Regions from separate parts of the Homo sapiens genome. Here regions 1 and 3 are each linked to region 2. The links are contacts of gene promoters, found by promoter capture Hi-C in blood cells and fetal thymus (Javierre and others, 2016). All regions are on one chromosome and are shown on one strand. Each heading gives the region's core, a stretch centred on a gene start or on the middle of the fragment in contact. The rest is flanking DNA. Distances are from core to core; before and after follow the strand shown. Region 1 overlaps CPEB2-DT (CPEB2 divergent transcript). Region 2 holds the start of LAP3 (leucine aminopeptidase 3). Region 3 overlaps CPEB2 (cytoplasmic polyadenylation element binding protein 2).

The links. The method cuts DNA at HindIII sites, captures the fragments that hold promoters and counts their contacts. A CHiCAGO score of 5 or more calls a contact.
Region 1: a fragment that was not itself captured here is called in contact with the fragment with the promoter of LAP3 in region 2 in 1 of 17 cell types (naive CD8 T cells); the score reaches 6.1 in naive CD8 T cells.
Region 3: a contact is called between a fragment that was not itself captured here and the fragment with the promoter of LAP3 in region 2, in 1 of 17 cell types (non-activated CD4 T cells). The highest score is 6.4, in non-activated CD4 T cells.

The regions. Positions count from the first base shown.
Region 1 is chr4:14,994,153-14,996,863 of GRCh38, forward strand. It overlaps CPEB2-DT (CPEB2 divergent transcript), which reads right to left. Exons shown (of 8, transcript NR_038857.1): 4 at 1,102-1,198. Among named protein-coding and RNA genes, the nearest start is that of CPEB2-DT, 6.5 kb to the right of the region's middle. The HindIII fragment of the contact is 924 bases long and covers 819-1,742 here.
Region 2 is chr4:17,575,512-17,578,447 of GRCh38, forward strand. LAP3 (leucine aminopeptidase 3) reads left to right here and starts at 1,687. Exons shown (of 13, transcript NM_015907.3): 1 at 1,687-2,056. The coding sequence starts at 1,955. RefSeq lists enhancers at 1,335-1,694, 2,035-2,234 and a silencer at 1,755-1,964. The HindIII fragment of the contact is 2,285 bases long and covers 385-2,669 here.
Region 3 is chr4:15,010,109-15,012,999 of GRCh38, forward strand. All of the region lies in intron 3 of CPEB2 (cytoplasmic polyadenylation element binding protein 2), which reads left to right. C1QTNF7-AS1 (C1QTNF7 antisense RNA 1) reads right to left here. Exons shown (of 6, transcript NR_125911.1): 4 at 385-464. Among named protein-coding and RNA genes, the nearest start is that of CPEB2, 9.1 kb to the left of the region's middle. The HindIII fragment of the contact is 3,258 bases long and covers 1-2,891 here.

The DNA.
Region 1 (2,711 bases), core at 31-2,530, 2.6 Mb before region 2:
TTTGTAAAGCATGCTTTGGAAACATCTACCTCTTTCCTTCCTTCCATCTCCCTCCTTCCTTTCCTTACCTTGTTTTCTCCTTTTCTTCATCTTTTCTTCTTACAGCATTCATTGGGCAATTACTAATCAACAAATACTTATTGGGCACTTGTGTTCCAGGAATGTGAAAGGCAAGGGAATGCGGAGATACATGAAGGAATTACATTTGAGTAACGTTTCTGCAGTATAATTGACAGAGCATGGTTGACAATTGTTTTTGGAGGGTGAGAGAGATGAAGGAAGAGGATGACTCATGTTTCAGCTTGAGAAACTGGTTGTGTGATGATGACGTCAGCCAAGACAAGAAGCAAAATAGGAGAAGCAGATTTTGGGGAAGATGTTGAATGCAGGTATAGACACATTGAATTGATGTGGCTGAAGGACACCCAGGTCAAACTGTTAAACAGGCAGTTGGAAATATGATTTTGACCATGAGGCTAAAGAGATGGATTTGGAAGACATTAGCATTTAGATGATGTTTGAAAACATGATAATAAATTCATCTAGAAAAAGTAGGTAGAAATATAGAAAAGGACCAGAAACATAAGCCTAAGGAACTCTCACACGTAAAGAATATGTAAGGAGAAAGTGAAGGAGGAAATTATGAAGGAAGGTTTAGAAAAGTAGGAGAACTAGAAGTAATTGAGGATGGTACTACTCTTGAGTGCCACATCAATAAAGCACCTTGAAGTTGGTCAAGGTCAGAATGAATCTTAATTTCTACTTTCTCCTTTTCCAACTCCAAACCAGAGCTAATTAGCTCCCATCTAAAGACTCAAAGCTTTCCCATTCTGTGGGGTTAATTACATTTATGGGCATGGGCTCTGCCACAGAAAGAAACCAGCAGCATGGAAGTAAGGCATCCAGTTGACCTTAACTGCAGTGCCTCCTGAACTGGTTCCATTTCTATGAGATGGGGTCTTGACTCCTCTCTTTGTTCAAGCTCCTGTAATGAACCCCTGTGTTCCTGGAGTCCCAACTCTAGTCTCCTGAGACAGAAGTTTTCCCCCTTGTACTCCAGGGTTATCTATTCCCCAGCGTTATAGTCTTGGGATGACTTACCTGTCTTCATGTACTTATCCTATATCTGACAATGCCTGGAATTATTTTTGGCTAGTTTAAGAATCCTAGGAGCATCTGCATGGTGTTTGGACAGCTCCTGAAAACAAATTAACCATTTATAAACAGACCCTTGTATTACTATTGTATTCTTTTAGCTATCATTTCCTAAAATTGCTATTTATTAATTCAACAACCCCTTTAATAAGTGCATGCAATTCCCAACTCTTGAAAGCCTACTATGTGCAAGGCATCGTTGTAAGTGCTGAGGATACAACAGTGAGCAAAACAGGCATGGACCTTTCCTCATGGGCTTGTGATCTCAGAGAGAGGACAGATAAACAGTTCAAGTACATAGTGGGTCAGATGGAAACACAAACACCTTATGAGGAATAAGAAGGCTGGGAAAGAGTGGCGGCGGGGGGTTGTCATTTTATTACAATGGTGGTCAGGGAAGACATCACTGAAAAATGACTTTTAGCAGAGACGTGAGAGAGACATGAAAAAAAATGATAAAAACATGATTAAGTGAGCCCTGTTGCTACTTAGGAGACAAGTATTCCAGGTGTGGGAATTGCGAGGGCAAAGGCCCTAAGGCTGAATTGGCCTGGGCTGTTACAGAAATAAGCATTCCACTGTAGGGAAGCTTTCAGAGGGGTTAGTGGTGGCAGGAGCGATTCTGAAGAACCTTTTGGTTATTAAAATGTTTTGACTTCTATTCTGAGAAAATGTAAGTATTTAGTCAGAGGAGTTGACATGACCTGTCTTCCACTTCAGAAGTATCATCCTGGCTGCTATGTTGGGAACAGACTGGAGAGGGGCAAGATCAGAAGCTGGAATACGAGTTAGTAGGTGAGAGCAACGATGTAGCCTGGTCCAGGCTGCTTGTGGTGAGAATGGGGTGAAGTGCTTGGATTCTGGATATATAGGCACTCCTCGCTTTATTGTGCTCTGCTATATTGTGCTTCTCAGATAATGGGTTTTTCACAAATTGAAGGTTGGTGGCAACCCTGCATCAAGCAAGTCTATCAGCACAATTTTCCCAACAGCATGGCTCAATTTGTATCTCTGTGTTACATTTTGGTAATTCTTGCGTTACTTAAAGCTTTGTCATTATTATTATATCTATTTTGGGGATCTGTGATCATAATATTTAATGTTACTAGTGTAACTGTTTTGGGACATCACAAACCACAACCATATAAGACAATAATTTAATCAATAAAGGCTTTGGGCTTCCCTATTCCCTGAGACAAAACAATATTGAAATTAGGCCAATTAATAACACTCTAACGACCTCTAAGTATTCAAGTGAAAGGAAGAGGTACATGTCTCTCACTTTAAATGAAAAGCTAGAAATAATTAGGCTTAGTGAGGAAGGTATGTGGAAAGCTGAAATAGGTTGAAAGCTAGGCCTCTTGCACCAAGTAGTTAGTCAAGTTCTGAATGCAAAGGAAAAGTTCTTGAAGGAAATTAAAAGTACTATTCCAGTGAACACGAGTGATAAGAAAGTGAAACAGCTTTATTGCTGATATAGAAAAAGTGTGAATGGTCTGGATAGAGAAAATTAAACCAGCCACAACATTCCCTTAAGCTGAAGCCTACTCCAGAGC
Region 2 (2,936 bases), core at 437-2,936:
GAGGCAGGAGAATCGCTGGAACCCAGGGGTGGAGGTTGCAATAAGCTGAGATCACACCAGTGCACTCCAGCCTGGGTGACAGAGCAAGACTCCGTTAAAAAAAAAAAAGTAAAAAATAAGGAATTAAAAAAAACAAAACGCTTTACAGAAAATAAAAATATATAAAAATATTGAGCACTACTTGAAAACTTTCTATTGAAACCATCCCCACTGTGTTGACAAAAATTTCATGCCAAGTTCTAGGCAGAAATATAGTTATAATTAAGCATTAATCAGGCTGTACTTTGGCCCACTTCCTTGTTGCTAAAAGTCACCTAGCACTACATACTGACCATTTGCATTCCCATTGTTCCTATAGACAGGATCTCTGACATTAGAATCATAAGCTTTCTGTTTAAGGATCGCTTAAGATATTTTTCAGACCTTGAATTCCAGCTACCAGTTTGAAGATCCCCAGAGAGGAATGGGGTCAGCTTAAGAATACAGGTTCTTCAACGCCCTGTCCCATGACTTCACCCTGCACTCTTCAATCAACGATCTCCACACTATAGCCCTCTCCAAAACCCTTAAAAACCTTGACCCCAAATTCCTCAGGGAGATGGATTTGAGGTTTCCTCCCATCTCCTCCTTTGGCGACTCCACGATTACACCTCTTTCTCTGCTGCAACCCTGGTGTCTGGGCGTATTGACTTGCTATGTGCACGAGTCAACGAACCTAATAGTGTTACATCATTTTCAAAAACAGTATTTACACCGTTGCACCTGTGGAACAGATGAAAGGACACGAATAAAAATAACTCAGGCCAGGTGCGGTGGCTCACGCCTGTAATCCCAGCACTTAGCGAGGCCGAGGCAAGTGGATCACGAGGTCAGGACTTCGAGACCAGCCTGGACAACATGGTGAAACCTCGTCTCTACTAAAAATACAAAGAGTTGCCGGGCACGGTGGCTCACGCCTGTAAGTAATCCCAGCACTTTGGCAGGCTGAGGCGGGTGTATCACCAGAGGTCAGGAGTTCAAAGCCAGCCTGGCTAACATGGCCAAACACTGTCTCTACTAAAAATACAAAGATTAGCCAGGTGTGGTGGTGGGCGCCTGTAGTCCCAACTACTCGGGAGGCTGAGGCAGGAGAATCTGTTGAACCCGAAAGGCGGAGGTTGCAGTGAGCCGAGATTGCGCCACTGCACTCCAGCCAGGGCTACAAGAGCGAGACTCCGCCTCAAAAAAAAAATCCAAAAAAACAACAAAAAAACACAAAGATTAGCTGGGCGTGGTGGCGGGCGCCCCTAATCCCAGCTACTCGGGAGGACGAGGCAGGAGAATCGTTTCAACTAAGCAGCGGGAGGTTGCAGTGAGCCGAGATCGCTCCATTGCACTCCAACCTGGGTGACAGAGCGAGACTCCGACTCAAAAAAACCAAACAAACAAACGAAAACTCAGTGGGAGTGTCTTCACTATGCAGTCGTCTATTCAGCAACCTTGACAACAAGCTCTGGCACTCAGTTTCTATTTCCCGGGAGTTGCCCAGCGCTCCGCCCACGCCCGCTTGCAGAACTCGCCCCGCCTCCGCCCCACCCATCGTGTGACGTCACCATATCGGTCCCGCCCCTCTACTTCGCGTTGCTCCCGGGACTGTCAACCGCGTCCGGAAGCCCCGCCTTTTCGCCCCCGCCCGCATGCGCGGGCGCACACGAATGCGGGCGCACACGAATGCGGGCGCACACGAATGCGGGCGCACCCTTGAGTCCCCTCCACAACCGCGGTTTGATCCCAGCGGTCCAGTCGGCCGGTGCTGCCCATCCGTCCCGCCCCCTAGACGCACGTCCGCTCGCCCGGCGCCCGAGCCAGTCCGCGCGCACGCCGTCTGCGCCCCGAAAGCCCCGCCCCAAGGCGCGCCCGCCCACCGCTCTCCACGTGCTCGCTGGAGGGCGGTGCGAGGGGCCGAGCCGACAAGATGTTCTTGCTGCCTCTTCCGGCTGCGGGGCGAGTAGTCGTCCGACGTCTGGCCGTGAGACGTTTCGGGAGCCGGAGTCTCTCCACCGCAGACATGACGAAGGTGAGAGGCGGCGGCTCGCTCATGGTCCGCCGCTGGGGCCCTGCCCGTGGGCTACTGGGGCTGCGGGGCTGGTCGAAGCCGCGGTGTCCTGGGCGCCCAAGCCAAGTTGCAAAAATCAGTTTAAAAGAAAAATTCTCTCCTTGCGGGGATCGGCCTAGGCCGCTGAGGACCCCAGCGGTCGTATTGAGGGCGCGATTCCCCTGCTCGGGGCTAGGGGGTGATGGTTGTAGCCGCCCTTTACCCGGCTCCACTCGGCCGCGCACTTGCTCCAGTCGTCACCCGCGGTCCTGGCAGTAACCCGGGGAAAGACGCGGCGGTGGGGCTCCCATCCGAGCTTGGAGGAAGCCCGAGTTTGCCAAGGTGAAAGGGTTTCTGAGGTCCCAGAGTCACAGGGCTCCTTCCCCCGCGGAAGTGAAAGGTCAGGGAGTTAAGTAGCTTGGAAGGGTTTCTAGAGGAAAAGCATGCCTCTCTAGAGAAAAGGGCTTTGGGGAGAGACCCACGTTTCCCAGAATTAAGAGCATCTTCCAGAAGAAAAGTGAACTCCAAAAAATTACGAAGGTCGCTCTTCAGATGTGAAGGATCTGCAAAGGGAATGGCTCTCGGAACCAGCACAAGCTTGGGAGTCATGCCTAAGCACCAGAAAGAGATGACTGTCCCTGCAGAAGAACGTTCTAGGGGGAGCTTGAGCTCCAGTCTCCTGCAGGTATCTCAGTGGTGGAGGGACCAGTCGCCTGACCAGTGCTATCTCCAGTACTGTGCCACAGCCTACCCAGATAACAGTTGCTCAGTTGGCTCCATTGATTCCCGGGGAGTGAACAATCTTAGGGAAGTTAGAACCTGGCAGAGTTACCAATGCCAAGGAAGGCCGTTTTCTTTGGTG
Region 3 (2,891 bases), core at 137-2,636, 2.6 Mb before region 2:
AGTGAATGGAACTGGAAGGAAAGAAGGCCTGAAACTTGGATCTTCTTCCTCTTCCTCATAATCTTTATGACATTGAATGACATAGTTTATAGGTTTTCATCTCTTTGGGTCACAGTTTCCTTATCTGTAAAAGGGGGACCTTGAACTGGGTCATTTAAGGCCTTTCCAGCCAGCTTTTAACACTTTCTCTGATCTGTTTTGGCCATTTCTTTTCCTCCATGCTGCCCCACCCCCCTTGCCTCTATTTTTAGAATACAAGCCTCTTGGTTTCTTTGAGCAAAGGGTCTTAGGCATTAGTCTAAGGCAGTGGAGGTAGTATGTGACCTTTCAACTGGACTTAAAAGCAGTGTCATTGTCTCCTCTAAGTACCCTAAGAGTACTTACACATAGTTTGTTGTGTGTTTCCATCTTTCCATAAAAGGTTGAAGTATTTGAAGTTGAGCCTCTTAAAAATACAGCAGCAGCTACAAAATGAAATTGATATCTTAAAATGTTGGGTAGTTTCTCATTCTTTGGCAAAATTAAAATTATAGAAGATTCTTAGTCACTTAAATGTCTGAGGAGATTATCTGCATTTCTGACCTTTTATCATCATATACAGTGTAATTCTAGTATATTTTTGTTAACAAGTACATTATTTTACAACATTTTACTTTTTATTTCCTTTAGTCTCAAACTGATTGGGGCCTAGAATATAATACAAAATTCTAGAACTGAAGTCTTAATTCTTATACTTGGATACCGCGGGCTTTACCTGTGTCAAGAGCTGAACACGTAATCGAATTCAATAAATAAGAAAGAGCTAGTTTTGTAGGTTGATTTTTATTTCTGTTAATATGTAAAATTTTGTGGGTTGGAATTTTATTTTAAATAAGATTTTTTAAAAATAGAAAACCCTCAAATTTAAAACTTTCTAAAAGCAAATATAAATTATTATAAACATTTCTGACTTTAAAATGAGTATTACATACATATCTCTATGAATTTCTTTTCTTTTTTTTTTTTTTTTTTTGAGACAGTTTCACTCTGTCACTCAGGCTGAAGTGCAGTGGCACGATCTCGTCTCACTGCAACCTCTGCCTCCCGGGTTCAAGCGATTCTCATGCCTCAGCCTCCCCAGTAGCTGTGATTACATGCATGCACCACCATACCCGCCTAATTTTTATATTATTAGCAGAGACAGGGTTTCACCATGTTGGCCAGGCTGGTCTCAAACTCCTGATCTCATGTAATCCGCCCGCCTCGGCCTCCAGAGTGCTGGGATTACAGGCTTGAGCCATCATGCCTGGCCAGTATATCTACATGAATTTGCTTAGGGTTATTAATTACTGTACTTTAAAATGTCATTAGCTAGTTACCCTTGCGAGAATCGTACTCAAAAGTTTGAATTCTAAATTATATTACAATGGAATTTGCAGCCAGATCCAGCAATGTGCACTACTTGGAAGGCTGAGGCAGGAGGATTGAATGCCTGAGCCCCAGAGTTGAGTCCAGCCTCGGCAACATAACAAGACACCACCCCCTCTTCCCAAAAAAATAGGAGTTTTCAGTTTAATGTTAAGGTTACGCTATATTTATTCATATGTTTTAAATCAAAGAGTAAATATCCTTTAAGTGAGGTTATTATTACTTACAAGTTTACATATGACATATCAGCTCACTGTAAACAAAGTAATGTCTTGGAACAGTAATTGAGTGTGTGAAGCATGTACGTGCATGTCCGCCTGCCTTCCACCTGGGGAATTATCAATATATCAACTCTCAATTTTTGCTCTTCCACAAGCTCTACTTGCAGTGCTTGAGCATGTCACATAATAAACTACCTTGAATTAATTGAAGATACTTTCCATTAATCTTTAATAGGCTGTTATGATAATGTGGTAAATCATAATTTGGAGATCTGTCTCAGAAAAAATATTATTTGAATCTTTACTCACCTTACACACAAAAAAACAGTATATAGTTGCATACCAAACCCAATTTGTTTATCTGATAAAGCATTTCTTAAATAGTGGTTTGTAAACCAGATGAACTTCAGGGACATTCATAGTCATCAAACTGTTACATGCCCACTGAAAATGGAAAAGAATGGACTCTTGTATTACAGCTTAAGTAATGGATGCCTTCTTTTTGTTTCCTATTCTGTGTTCAGTGCTTTAATTGTTCTTGAAATGTTTTCCACTTGTCTATTTTAATTCTTGTGAGTACTAGAATAGCTTTGGCCTTTTAAAACATTTGTTTATTTTTTTTCTGAGAATGGCTAACACACTTTATTGAGGTTCGAAATTAATAAAGAAAATAAAAGAAATGTATCTTCATTCATTCTGTATGTTAGTGTTTTAATTACCCTTAGAATATATGGATAAAAAATACTATTCTTTGTCTTGGAGAAGGTAAGAGTCTAGTTAGATGAATAAGGGTTATCTATGTAGAACAACTAGAGAATGAGAAGAGAGCTTATGAGATTGAGTACTACGTTATGCAGTAGAGTAGCACGTCATCTGCTACTGAGTATGGTGTGATAACATTGTGTAACAGGAAAGTATGATCAATATCTACTTAAAATTAAGGACAATATTAGCACTACATTGCTTTATTTTAAAGTAAAAATTAGAGAACTAAACACAAGCATTGTAAGTACAATAAAAGCTGATCTTTCTAGTTAAGCAGAATAATACATGTTCAAGCATCTGCTAAATCATTAAATATAAGAATATAGGGGTTTTCTATAATCTTATTTTTCTTTGGAAGAGTACCTCATTTTCAAGAGGAGAAGTTTCTAATTGACCACTTCTTTAAAAATAAAACAGGGTTTTTAATGTATCCCAGCAAAAAAAATTAATATCTCTTCAAAAAGTTCTCTTGTGATTAAGTTTGAATTCCCTTTGTCA